2 separate regions of the Homo sapiens genome follow, and region 1 is linked to region 2. The links are contacts of gene promoters, found by promoter capture Hi-C in blood cells and fetal thymus (Javierre and others, 2016). All regions are on one chromosome and are shown on one strand. The core of a region is centred on a gene start or on the middle of the fragment in contact, and the rest is flanking DNA. Distances in the headings are between cores, read along the strand shown. Region 1 overlaps MGAT1 (alpha-1,3-mannosyl-glycoprotein 2-beta-N-acetylglucosaminyltransferase). Region 2 holds the start of BTNL8 (butyrophilin like 8).

Region 1 (2,700 bases), core at 82-2,581, 110 kb after region 2:
GCACCTTCAGGGGTCTCCTGGTATTCACCCATCAAGGCTTGCTCAGGTGGCATGCGTGTGTGCGTGGCGGCTGCCCCCGGGCCCGGAAGCGCCTGTGGATACCAAAGCAAGTGGAAATGCCAGATGGAAAAGCCCCGTGTTAGTCAATGCTGTAGAGTTCAGCCAGCCTCGAGTTTGCAGGTTTACAGAGCTGCCTTGCGCCTGGCTGCTGCTGCTGCTGCATTCCTGCTTCTGCCTCCAGCTGTGACCACCTCCTGCCACTCCTGCTCTCACTGTGGGTTCCTGCTCACTCTGTCTCCAGGACAGACTGCCTTCCGGGCAGCCTTCCCTCCTCAAGCCTCTTGGCCTTTGCAATCCTCTTACCTGGGTCACTGGTGGGATCTCATTTGTGGATCAAGTCGCCCCCAGTGGAGACAAATGTCTGATGGAGTCTGGCCAAGGCCCTCCTGAGCCTTCACTGGGCCCTGCATGAGAAGCCTGCCAAGGCTGAGGGGCCAGGGAAACGGAGACGAAGCCCTCAGAGCAGGCCAAGAGGGTGGGAGGTGGGGGGCATTTAGAGGGTTAGATACAGAGCACCCCTTTACAAATACCAGCTACTGGCTTTTCGTATTACATGTTCATTTTAGATACAACATACTGCACACGCTCCCTTAACGTGTGTTTACGCGTGGGTGGTGTATCCTTCCAGACGTCTTCCTCACATCTATACATAATATGCATAGATAAAACATTTACCACCAAAACCCATAGTGTTATGTACATATTTGTCTGGCTGTGTAACTTTAAATAACATACAAATGTATAGAACAGAAGCTTGCCCTCTTTCTGAAATATCTAACGTGGGATTTCAGGCTTTCTGATGAGACCTCTGTAGAGGTCAGTGTTTTGCCACCAGAGGTCCTTCAGCCTCCATCTGTTCTCCCACCTACCCACATTCTGGCCCCTGGCAATTCACAGGGAGTTTAGGAAGTAGACACCAGGGCCCTATTTCCTGGAGACCAGCCTGGTGGCCGATGTCATAGAGTGCGGTGGGCCTGGGCCGGCCCTGCTCTGGGCCCGTGACCTGCGTGTCTGACTCGGGTCCAGCTGTTCTTCCTGCCAGAGCCTCTTCCTGTGAGGCGGGGGTAACACAACCTTCTGTGGTGGCTGTGGGATTAATCCGTATGGCTGCATTGTGAGTAAAGCCTGGTGGAAATCTCTGTCTCCACTGCTTTCCTTTTCCTGCTGTTCACCTTGGCTCCCTCGACACTTAATCCCCCTCCACATGTGTCTGGAGCGGGCAGAGCGGGGGCAGTTGATAGAAAGGGGGCCGGGTAGTGCCAAGGCTGTTACTTTCCCCCACTGCCTCCCTTGGCTAACTTGAAGTCTGACCCTTTATACCAGAACTGTAAGACAGTGTGTCAGAATGGATTCAGTTGCAGAGCAGGAAGCCTGGATCCCAGCGCCGGACGGAAATGAGAGGTCGATGGTGCAGGCTGGTGTGGGGGTTCCTCCACCGTCAGGGCCCAGGCTCCTTCTCAGGTCTCAGTCTCACTCTTCTTAGCACGAGGTCAGGTCTCATTCCTTGGCTGCGGGAGCTCCAGCCAGCACACGTTTTAGGAAGAAGGAGGAAGGAAGAAGGTAAAGGGTGGATGGCAGCTGCCTCCTCCTCTCTTGGAAGCTCACAGAGCGCTGGGTCACAATTCCCTGGGTAGAACTGGATCACACAGGCACCCCTGTCAGCAAAAGAGGCTGGAAAAAGTATTTCTGAAGCTGAATCAAATTAAGATTCCTGTTACTAAGAAGGGAGTGATTGTATGGGCGACTACAGGGACCACGGCCATACACGGTGCCTGGAAGACCAAGCTTGTGACAGTGACGAGGATTTGGAGAGGGCAGGGTGATGGGGAGCTTTGGGGGGAGTGCATTAGGAACCCTGACCTGGAGAGGGGCAGAATGAAACCTGCGGGCCCCTAACCCTAGTGGGTTGTTTGAGAAACCTGTCCTACTGTGGCAGGGGGCTGAGTCTTCTCAGGGTCATGCATGAAAACTGAAATTCCTGAAGGCCACACACAGCCCCGGAAGTGCTGACTGACAAGGGCACATGCCAGTGATGCAGTTTTCTTTTTTGTCTTCACTTTTGTTGTTCCGCCGTCTTCAACACATGGCTCCCAGCTCACAGCAAATGCTGCCCTGGTTCAGCTACCAGGAAGCAGGAGAGGGGAAGGGAGGGCAAGCCTCATTCTTTATGGAACAAAAGCAGTGGGCAGACAGCCTTCCCTCACGTTCCACTCACTGGAATGTGGTCTGGCTGCCTTCCCTGCAGGAGGTGGGATGCACCCTCAGTGCAGCAGCCCTGCCCCAGCCAAAAACGTCTCAGCACAGCTGTAAGAAGAGGAAGATGGCTAGAGACAGGCAGCCTTCCCTGCAAGGGCAATGAGGCAAGCCTGCCAAAAGCCTCCTTTGGAAATACTGTTTGATTACTTTTCAGAGTTTCTATTTAGGAAAAGGGCAAAACCTTTCAGGATCAGGAGTAGGTGAGCGGCGATCAGGCCTCACTCTTCACCGAGGGCCTTCCCTGAGGAGGGGCCTGCAGGACGCTGGCAGCGGAATGGGGCTGTGTGGCTGCTAGATTAGGTCATGGCAGGGAGACAGCCTCTTCCTGGTTCTTGCTAGAACAGGCACACTTGGGGCCTTGAGCTCCAGGGAGTTCATGGAAGA
Region 2 (2,714 bases), core at 185-2,684:
GTGGGGCTCTTGAGGCAAGGAAACATTTTTCAGGGTACCTCCATTTCTCCGGCCAGCCCTTGCTGCTGTCACCTCTCTTGCCTATAACATCTCCTTTCACTCCTTCCACTTCCTTCCCTTGAAAATAAGAAAGGAACAAGACTGTTGCTGCAACATGCCATGCACCCGTGCAGCTGTGTGCACTCTACATGCACAAGCTCATGCAGTCCTCACCACAGCCCCAGCAGGAATGTGATCGTATCTCCATGTCATCATAAGCAAACCAACACCTAAGGAAGCTGTGAACAATAAAGCTCACAAGAAAATGAAATAAGAGTTTTTAAAAATAAAATGTTTCTGTCTCCAAGATCATTTCCAGGATGTCCTGCTGCCTCACCCGGAAACAGAAGGGAAACAAAGAAGCTCGTCAGAAAATAAATGAAAACAAACTGAAACGAGAGCGTCTCCTGTTAGTAACACATATGGGTTTTTGTTTTAAGGAAACATGCTCTATGTTTTGATTGCCCTTATTTCTGTTTTCTTAGCTTCATTTAGCAAAAAAGATATAGGTGGACAGGTGGCAGGATGAACCTTCACAGACAGAAAGTGAACACAGTCAATCGAATCTTCTGTGGCTGGGTACTGACCATCTAGCCACCAGCATTCTACCCCAACCTCAAGCTTCCTCTGTGAATTGTATTCAGTCACTCAACATCCTATATACTAGGTTCTGTGTTAACAGTAACTGGAAGGAGAAAGAAGAGTGGATTTCTTCCCAGAATATGCCAGGTTTCAGCTAATTTCTCACCTCAAGACCTGTACACCTTCCTCCACCCTCGTGTCTCATACCACAGACATTTCTAACTCAGCATGTCTTTAGCTGGATACATTGTCTTTTCCCCAAAAATCCTAACTGTGTCTCTTCCCAGATGGACATCCATGTCAGCAACCTTGGTGCTCCAATAACCCTGCCTACACCACTCAGCCCATCTGGGAGAAACACTGAATTTATTCACCTTAACACGTTAGGTGTGTCCCCGTCAACGATCACGGTGCGTCTTCAACACCCGTGTTTCCATTATTTGGGGGCTACTATAATTGTTTCCACAGCGCCTGATCCTTCCCCAGGCTGAGGCTAGGAGAAGCCAAAGGAATGGAAACGACAAAGATGCCTTCATTCCATTATGCTGCAACCATTGTAGCTAAAGAACTCAAACTGTTAGTTAGTAAGGAGGAAACAAAGATGAGTCTTACCTGATCCCAGCTTGAGGAGACTCAGAACCAAACTGAGCATGAGAGCCATGGATGTGTTCTGTGAATGGACCTCACGGCATGGAAACGGATGACAGGAGAGGTGACGGATGGATTAGAGAGAAGAGGAGAACTGGCCTAATGCTCAAGGTGCGGAAGCCACGGAGAGGCTCTGCGTGAGCGGAGGGCAAACTGCGCTGTTCTGAGAGTCTACTCCATCGAGACACAGCTGTCATGTACCAGAAGTGTAGGGACTCTAGACTTTGAACCACTGCATAAATGTCTATATCTTATCAAGGAAGCAAAGATAGAAATAGTGTGGATAAGATTGGAGGTGAACTTTGTCCTGGGCAAAACGATGCCCTGTGTGGGTGAAACAGGAATGTCAGATGCGGAAATACTTTTCACGTCCAATCTGGCAGGCAGGGCTGTATGGCCATGGGATCTAGTCCTGAAAAACCTCATGTTAGCACTGGATAGTTTGGTGTCCAAGTAAATAGGCCATGCTCCATTAGTAGTAGCCTACAGCAGGTGACTTGACATTTCCTGGCACAGTCTGAGGTCCTTTTGCTTACCCCTCCATTCTCTGAAGTTCAGGGCCAGGACTGTAATCATGAGGCCAGATAAAAATAACTTTCCAGAACAAAACAGATCCTTAGTGTTAAACATCTGATACATTGGGAAAGGTGCCTGGGCAGGTTCAGACATGAGGAAACTTATTTATTATATAAACTAAGTTCCAGGGCAGCCACAATGAGAGATTTGCAGTCTTTTTAAGCACACGGAAACTCACAAAGTCACCACTTAACTAGATCAGAATGAAAATTTCCACAGATAACCATCAAAATAAACATACTCTAATCATAATGCAATTAAAATTAAAAAGTAATTCAAAAACATAGGAAACTCTATACACTAAGAAATTCTTATGTAACAATTTAAAACAACTCACGAGACTAAATCACAATAAAAGTTAGCATCTAGAATAGGACAAAATGAAAACACTGCATTTAGTCTAAAATCTAGAACACTGACAACACCAAATGCTGGTGAGGATGCGGAGCAACAGGAATTCTCACTGATTGCTGACAGGAATGCAAGACGGTACGGTTGTTCTAGAAGACAGTTCAGCAATTTCCTGCAAAATTAAACATACTTTTATCACCTAATCCAGCAACTGCACTGCTTTTTATTCACCTAAATGACTTGAAAACATATGTCCACATGAAAAATTGCACATGAATGTTTATAGCAGCTTTATTCATAATTGCCAAAAATGTTTGCAACCAGATATCATTCAATAATGATACATAGAATGTATACACAAACTATGGTACATCTATACAATGGAATATTACTCTGTGATAAAAAAAAAAAGGAAATGAGTTGTTGAATGTTGTAAGCAAGAGAGTAGAATAGAAAATTATTGATCTCATGCTGTCTCAGAAATACAGATTTACCAAGGATATATAGACCAAAATACC

What was found. The method cuts DNA at HindIII sites, captures the fragments that hold promoters and counts their contacts. A CHiCAGO score of 5 or more calls a contact.
Region 1: a fragment that was not itself captured here is called in contact with the fragment with the promoter of BTNL8 in region 2 in 1 of 17 cell types (naive B cells); the score reaches 5.0 in naive B cells.

What each region holds. Positions count from the first base shown.
Region 1 is chr5:180,785,549-180,788,248 of GRCh38, reverse strand. It overlaps MGAT1 (alpha-1,3-mannosyl-glycoprotein 2-beta-N-acetylglucosaminyltransferase), which reads left to right. Exons shown (of 2, transcript NM_002406.4): 2 at 1-2,700. Among named protein-coding and RNA genes, the nearest start is that of MGAT1, 16 kb to the left of the region's middle. RefSeq lists enhancers at 1,392-2,302, 2,303-2,700. The HindIII fragment of the contact is 1,032 bases long and covers 816-1,847 here.
Region 2 is chr5:180,897,879-180,900,592 of GRCh38, reverse strand. It overlaps BTNL8 (butyrophilin like 8), which reads right to left and starts at 1,434. Exons shown (of 8, transcript NM_001040462.3): 1 at 1,234-1,434. The coding sequence starts at 1,282. The HindIII fragment of the contact is 2,662 bases long and covers 663-2,714 here.